Regions from separate parts of the Homo sapiens genome. Here region 2 is linked to region 1. Evidence: promoter capture Hi-C in human tissues and cell types (Jung and others, 2019). All regions are on one chromosome and are shown on one strand. Each heading gives the region's core, a stretch centred on a gene start or on the middle of the fragment in contact. The rest is flanking DNA. Distances are from core to core; before and after follow the strand shown. Region 1 holds the start of LCA5L (lebercilin LCA5 like). Region 2 overlaps GET1-SH3BGR (GET1-SH3BGR readthrough).

Region 1 (3,848 bases), core at 431-2,930:
AGCGATAGAGTGATACGTCTCAAAAAAAAAAAAAAAAAAAAGCAAAAGCGAAAGCAAAGAAAGATTCAAGGGCAGATTTGCAGTGACTTATCATGTCTACAGACTGGGAAAAGCTGGTAGAAAAGAGGAGGAAACCATTCTCAGGAAACTCTACCTTTCAATTCCTCCAGTCATGAGCTCCAGGGTTGGATGCTCCCGCAATGGCAAAACTCCGCTCTCGTTACTGTCATGGGGCCACCACCACCCACCAAGCATCAGCCCATCTTTCCATAATGTCAAGTCTAGAGTGACATTTGTCTAATGTTTGCCTACCTGGAGATGTTGCCCCGCCCACCACCACCAGCAAAAACAACCGGCACCCATCTTATACGGATAATTCCCTACCTAAGGAGTTCTAGAAATGCATGGCCCACCAAAACTCAGGGTGGGTCATGCATTTCTAGAGGAAGAAATGGTGATATGGAGAGAAAGCTTGTCCTAACCCACTTCTACCAAAGTAGGATTAAAGTCAATTTGAAAAAAAACACCCGTTTCTCCTTTTATATAAAAACCAAATGCAGAAACTATAGAGAAATGTAATAAGCTTGACTCTACACAAATACCAAAATACACTGTAAACAAAATTAAAGGTAACTGACAAATTGAGGAAATATTTGCAACGTATATCACAAGCCAAGTTTTCAAGCATCAAAAGTCCTTACAAAACCCATTTTTACAAAGATGAATGTCAAGTTTTAAAATGGACAAAAGACAGGAAAATGCAAATCACACAATAAGGACAAATGGCACTCAAGATATGGGAAAAAGTCTATTCTTCCTACTAAAAAGGAAGTGAATACAATTAAAGATGCCAATTTTTGACAATAAAATGGGCAAAAAAATTTTAAGAAAAAAGAGAATTTCCAATGCGGGCCAAGTATCGGGACACTTACTGGAAGGCAGTTTCCCTCTACCTTTAGAAAGCCTCAAAGTGAGCATATGCTTTGGCCCTGCAACCTCGCTTGTAGGAATTTATCCTAAGGAAACAGTCAGGGGTGACCTCAAAGATTCATCTGCAAGGATATTCAACATGGCTTTGATGCAGGAAAAAAAGTAAATAAATAAAAGGAAACAATGTAAGTCTTCCTAAATTATGCCAAATTCCTATGCTGTCATTAAAAAACATCTATAACTCCATCATCTAGGTGATTTTGACTTTTGCTTTGGACTTGCCTGTACATTTCTAAATTCTCTATGCCAAACATGCATTGTTTTGTCATCAGATTTTGTTTTACAAAAAAAAAAAAAAAATCGTCTTTATGACAAGGGGTTAATAGGGGAACTGTGCTTCCCAGGAATTGACCAGGCGTCTACACCCACCTACTGACTCAAGTTACCTAAGACTGACAGAGCCTTAAGAGGTCAGGAGAGCGCCAGAGCGCGTGACAGGCTCCCTCGTCTCGGTGCGGCCACGCGGGAAGGCAGGGTCCCGGGCGCCGAACAGGGACGGCAGGAGGATCGTTTACAGACGTCTACACAAGAAACTCACTTCCCGTCACCGAAGACAAACGCGAGGCCACACTGACCTCCAGGCCCAAGACGCCCCTCCCCGCCGCGGCTCCTGCTGCCCGAGTGCGCATGCGCGCGCCCAGCCCCCGCAGGCCGGCGCTTCCCAGGAGGCCCCGCGCGCGGGTTTCCATGGGGACGCGCCGGCGCTGCGGCGTTGGCGCAGTCGTGGGAACAGCGCGGAGCAGGTAACGGCCCCGCTGCTGCCGTCGTCCCCCTCAGCCGGTTACCCTGTTACAGCCCCAGCTCTGGGCCCTTCCGGACCCTCCTGCTACGCTCTTTCTGGGCTTCCAGTATCGCCGGTCACTCAGTCCTCGCCCCTGCCTGCCTCGCTGGCGCCCCGCCGTTTCCTCCTCGCGGCACAGTTTGCCAAGGAACAGCTACCCCGGCTCGGCAGTGACCGGGCGCCCCGGCGACACACGTACTCTCAGGCCCGCTGGGCAGGGGGACGGCCTGGGCCGAGGTGACCTAGCGCTCCCGGGGCCGCGCCTGGGTCTGGCGAGGGGGCGGAGGCCGATCTCACCGCCGCCCCACCGAGGGAACTTTGGGGTTTTTCTATCTGAATCTTCTATCTGACCTCCGATTTTGCCTCTGCTTACTTGCTGTTTTGCTTTGGATTAGTTTTTCTTTCTAACCTTAGCGCTGGCATCTCCCTATCTCGTAGGAATCTAAATCTTTTGAAATGTCTTCTCTGTCTGTGTTTGTCCCCCACTCACCCAGCCTCGGGGCTCTTTATCCACACCCTCCCCTCAGCGTGTTAACGTTTCGTTGCCACACTTAAGCCAACGGTTAACTTTTTTCAGAGACCAGTTTTCACGGCTGAATGTGAGCTTGAGCCTTTTTTCTGTCTACACTCAATCCCTAGATGAACTCATCCAGTCGCCTGTACTCAGAGCCTATCTGAATTCCAGTGAGCCCCAAGTGTGCATTCCCAGCCCTCGCCCCTCCCCTGAACACCAGATCCCTGCATTTAGCTGCCTGCCACATCCCTACTTGGATGTCTACGGCATCTCAAACACAGCTCGTCCAAGATAGCGCTCAATAATTCCCCAAGCCAAGCCTGTCCTCCCACAATCTTAATCCATCATAGTTGCTGGAAATTCCATCCTCCAGTTGCCCGAGTCTTGCATCCTGTTTGAGTCCTGTTTTTCTCTTCCTCACCTTCAGTCTGTCAGCACTGCCTTCAAAATGCACCCAGAATAGATTCACAATTCTACCATTTCTCTCAACCGCCACTGTCACCACCTTGGTCCAGGCCCCCATCATCTGGTGCGTGGATTATTTTACTTGCTTCCTAATTGGTTTCCCTGAGTCTGCCCCTCCCCCACTTGAGCATGACAGTCTTAATGGTATTTCCCCGTTCTCTGTTATTTCGTATGAGTAAGTTTTTTAAAGGATTATATAAATTACAATTTCCTTATATAAATTACAACTTCCATAGGTAAAAGTGCAGTATTTTCAGTATGTATTTTGCAAATTGCAACTTTTAAACCGGGTCAGCAAGGCCATATAAGCATCCTGCTAACAAGCTAAAAATGTAAAGACACCCCTTAGCTTTGTTAGGTATAAATATGACAGTGCCCCTGGAACAGAACTATGGCAAGAGCTTTACAAGGGACTGTCCTGAAGAACAAAAGAACCCAGAGCCTTCTTCCCAGCGCAAAGACAGGAATCATGTAGGAGTTTAAGCTCTTCCTTTTTTATTTTTTAGAGAAGCACCAAAAGAGGCAAACTGAGATGCAGACAAATGATCATCCGTATGCTGATCATTTTGAATAGTAAGTACCTGGGTGCTGATACCGCGATCAATGTGACAGGTCCCTGCCCTCAAGGAGCTAAGGCCCCTAGCCAATCTCTCTTTTTTTGTTGTTTTTTTTTTTTTTAAGACAGAGCCTTACTCTGTCGGCCAGGCTGGAGTGCAGTGGCAAGATCTCGGCTCACTGCAACCTCCATCTCTGGGCTCAAGCAATTCTCCTGCCTCGGCCTGAGTAGCTGGGATTACAGGTGTACGCCACCATGCCCAGCTAATTTTTGTATTTTTAGTAGAGATGGGGTTTCACCATGTTGGCCAGGCTGGTCTCAAACTCCTGACCTCAGGTAATCTGCCTGCCTCGGCCTTCCAAAGTGCTGGGATTAAAGGCGTGAGCCACTGCGCCCGGCCCTACCCTTGCCACTCTCTTAAACTCCTAGCCCCATCTTTTCTCTTTTGCCATCAGGTAAAACCCCAATTAACCAAAGTAACAGAGTAGGATTGCCACGGTTAGCTGAGGGTCTGTAGGAGATTGCATTTCATAAATGACCAT
Region 2 (3,848 bases), core at 929-3,428, 42 kb after region 1:
TACAGTCATAGTACAGGCAAGCATCTCAGTAACAGAGAGGAAATGGAGCTAGAGCATTCTGACAGTGGGTATGAGCCCTCATTTGGTAAGTCTTCCAGAATAAAAGTGAAGGATACAACTTTCAGAGATAAGAAAAGCAGTCTCATGGAAGAACTCTTTGGATCAGGCTATGTCTTGAAAACTGACCAATCAAGTCCTGGTGTTGCAAAAGGCTCAGAGGAGCCTTTGCAAAGTAAGGAGTCGCATCCCCTGCCTCCCAGTCAGGCCTCCACCAGCCATGCTTTCGGAGACTCTAAAGTAACTGTGGTAAATTCTATTAAGCCATCGTCACCTACAGAAGGAAAAAGAAAAATAATTATTTAAATATAATCAATATCCTAATGCATTCTGGTTTGATATAATGCTGCTTATGTGCCTTGCATCTTATTTTTGAAATGTGTGAGAGAGGGAGTGTATGTATGTGTGTGTTTTAGTACTTAATTGACTTTCGATAATTAAATTTTTGTTTGATTGCTAATCTAGTAAAAAATCTATTTTATATTAGCCAATGATAACACTTCAAATACAAATTTACATCTTTACAACTGAAACATCCATTATCTTCTGGAAGACTGGTTTACTATATGGTTTTAGTATTCTGTGGGACTCCATAGCTAGTAACTCTTAAGTTAGTCAACCCAAGACATGCATCTCCTACACAACAAAATTTATCAGCAATAGAGTTGAATTGTAACTTAAAAACATGGAAGCAGGCCAGATGCAGTGGTTCTTGCCTGTAATCCCAGCATTTTAGGAGGCCAAGGTGGGAGGATCACTTGAGTCCAGGAGTTTAAGACCAGCCTGGCCAACATGGTACAACCCCGTCTCTACAAAAATTATAAGAATTAGCCAGGTGTGGTGGTGTGTGCCTGTAGTCCCAGCTACTTGGGAGGCTGAGGTCAAAGAATCACTTGTGCCCAGGTCGAGGCTTCAGTGAGCATGATCGTGCCACTGCACTCTAGCTTGGGCAATCGGAGTGAGACCGTGTCTCAAAAAATAAAAACAAAATGTGGCAGCAGCTTTGAAAGGGAACAATATGATCAAAAGACTCTTTTTACTAAAAAAAAAAAATAGGCTGGGTGCCATGGCTCACGCCAGTAATCCCAACACTTTGGGAGACCGAGGTAGGTGGATCACCTGAGGTTAGGAGTTTGAGACCAGCCTGGCCAACATGGTGAAACCCTGTCTCTACTAAAAATACAAAAAATCAGCTGGGTGTGGTGGCACATGCCTGTAATGGCAGCTACCCAGGAGGCTGAGGCAGGAGAATCGCTGGAACCCCAGGAGGCAGAGGCTGCAGTGAACCAAAATAACACCACTGCACCCTAGCCTGGGTGACAGAGCGAGACTCCATCTCAAAAAAAAAAAAAAATACATATATGTATGTATGTGTGTATATATATAGTGATTACCAAGCTTAGTTTCATGAAAATCTTTTTTTTTTTTTTTTTTTTTGACAGTGTCTCAGTGTGTCACCCAGGCTGGAGTGCAGTGATAACAATCTTGGCTCACTGCAACCTCCGCCCTGCCGGGGTTCAAGCGATTCTCGTGTCTCAGCCTACAGAGTAGCTGGGATTACAGGCATGCACCACCACACCCAGCTAATTTTTCTATTTTTATTAGAGACTAAAAATGGTTTTGCCATGTTAGCCAGGCTGGTCTTGAACTCCTGACCTCAGGTGATCTGCCCACCTCAGCCTCCCAAAGTGCTGGGAATGACAGGCGTGAGCCACCGTGCCCAGCCATGAAAATCATTTTTGAGTTTCTCTTATTCAGCTAACCTGGGTATCCAATGTCCTGCCTTTGTGGGTGATGCTTTCCTTGTGTACACCTGAGATCCAGTATCATTTATTGAGATTTGTTGCATACCTGTATGTTGACCATTTTTCTGTTAACCTTGTTCTAAAAACCATAAAACAGTACCATGGCCCTGCTGGTGTTTATTCGAGCTAGCTGCTCAGTCCTAACTAATATATTTACTAAACTTAGGATATTTTAAATTAGGACTGTAAAAAGGAGGCTATACTCCCAGCCTCACTTTATTTAGCTTACTTCATTTAGTTATAAGGGCAACTTGTTTATAATCTAGACCATACTATTTCCTTTCCAATGATGTTTATGTGTTGGTGTGTAATATTAACTGTAATGGCAGCTACCCGGAAGGCTGAGGCAGGAGAATCGCTTGAACCTGGGAGGAGGTTGCAGTGAGCCAGGATCGTGCCACTGCACTCCAGCCTGGGCGAAGGAGCAAGACCCTGTCTCAAAAAATATAAAAATAAAAATAGAGCCGGGCGCAGTGGCTCACGCCTGTAATCCCAACACTTTGGGAGGCTGAGGCGGGCGATCACCTGAGGTCGGGAGTTCGAGACCAGCCTGACCAATTTGGTGAAACCCCGTCTCTACTAAAAATACAAAAATTAGCCATGCGTGGTGGCCAGCATCTGTAGTCCCAGCTACACAGGAGGCTGAGGCAGGAGAATTGCTTGAACCTGGGAGGCAGAGGTTGCAGTGAGCCAAGATCCCGCCACTGCACTCTAGCCTGGGCGACAGAGTGAGACTCCATCTCAAAAAAAAAATAAAAATAAAAATAGTAGACCGGGAGCGGTGGCTCACCCCAGCACTTTGGGAGGCCGAGGCGGGCGGATCATGAAGTCAGATCGAGACCATCCTGGCTAACACGGTGAACCCCGTCTCTACTAAAAATAACAAAAAATTAGCCGGGCGTGGTGGCGGCGCCTTTAGTCCCAGCTACTGGAGAGGCTGAGGCGGGAGAATGGCGTGAACCCGGGAGGCGGAGCTTGCAGTGAGCCGAGATCGCACCACTGCACTCCAGCCTGGGCAACAGAGCGAGACTCCGTGTCAAACTAATTAATTAAAAAATAATAAAACCAAAGATGAGATAAATACTACAATTGGCATATGCTTTGATCGTTTATGAAAAGCAAGGTGGAATAACATAGAAAAGAAGAGGACGGAAGGAGTAAGGGAGGCAGGGAGGGAGAGCTCTCACAGGCTCATAAGGGGAAATACGCAAATTAAGTGAGATGACATAGTGGCCTCAATTCCGGAGAAATGTATTAAAAGGACTCCTGGAAATGGTATGCTGAGTAACATGACAGTGTCTACTCCAGCTTCATAGCAGACAGAGGATTTTCCAAGGGATCTTTTCTTATGCCCACCCACAATGAAAGCACACATCGTGATATTAAATCAGAGCTATATTTAGAAGTGTAGAGAACTAATTTAATAAAAATACAATCTAAGCCTGTTGTTGTCTAGTCATCTTAACTGTATGAATAAAAAAGTTAGAGGGTAACAGATTAACATGCTAACTTTTTATCTCTGAGTATTATGAGATTGGGGCCAATTTTTAATTTACTTTTAGTGTTTTCTACTCTGGCTTTCTTTCGCATGTTTGCTATGATGAACATAACTTTACGATCATGGAAAAAAGATTTTTAAAAACAAATCCATTTCCTGAGCTCTGAGAGAGAAGGTACTCCAACACTCTTGCTGTAACAAAAGCTAAAAATGCTGTACCAACTATAGAAAACGTTTCTAAATCAGCTGCTCAGCTGGTAAACACGAAAAGAAATTAGGCACCCAAGGAGATAAGTAAGCAAAGCACTAAAGTAAGCTTCTGCCTAAAGGGCATTTGCCGAATATGTCTGAGCAACACAGACTCCTCCTGAGGACAAAACCCAGGCAGCCCAAGTTAGGGGGTCCGTTTTCCATACAATGCTGGGACCTCCCTGGGGTCTCCAGCTCAGTGAACTAAAAGATTGTAAGTAAAGAACTCAGACTCTTTA

Evidence for each region. Contacts are between HindIII fragments. The study calls those that stand out against the background at their distance.
Region 2: a contact is called between a fragment that was not itself captured here and the fragment with the promoter of LCA5L in region 1, in 2 of the 25 tissues and cell types used here (adrenal gland and aorta).

Annotation. Positions count from the first base shown.
Region 1 is chr21:39,443,610-39,447,457 of GRCh38, reverse strand. LCA5L (lebercilin LCA5 like) reads left to right here and starts at 1,680. Exons shown (of 11, transcript NM_152505.4): 1 at 1,680-1,733; 2 at 3,257-3,323. The region is part of intron 8 of GET1-SH3BGR (GET1-SH3BGR readthrough); the gene reads right to left. MIR6508 (microRNA 6508) reads right to left here and starts at 448; the gene lies at 389-448. It also overlaps a transcript of SH3BGR not described here. RefSeq lists a silencer at 1,510-1,769. The HindIII fragment of the contact is 9,266 bases long and covers 1-3,848 here.
Region 2 is chr21:39,402,397-39,406,244 of GRCh38, reverse strand. It overlaps GET1-SH3BGR (GET1-SH3BGR readthrough), which reads right to left. Exons shown (of 14, transcript NR_146618.2): 5 at 187-331. It overlaps LCA5L (lebercilin LCA5 like), which reads left to right. Exons shown (of 11, transcript NM_152505.4): 11 at 1-517. The coding sequence ends at 363. It also overlaps a transcript of GET1 not described here. Among named protein-coding and RNA genes, the nearest start is that of GET1-SH3BGR, 24 kb to the right of the region's middle. The HindIII fragment of the contact is 5,337 bases long and covers 1-3,848 here.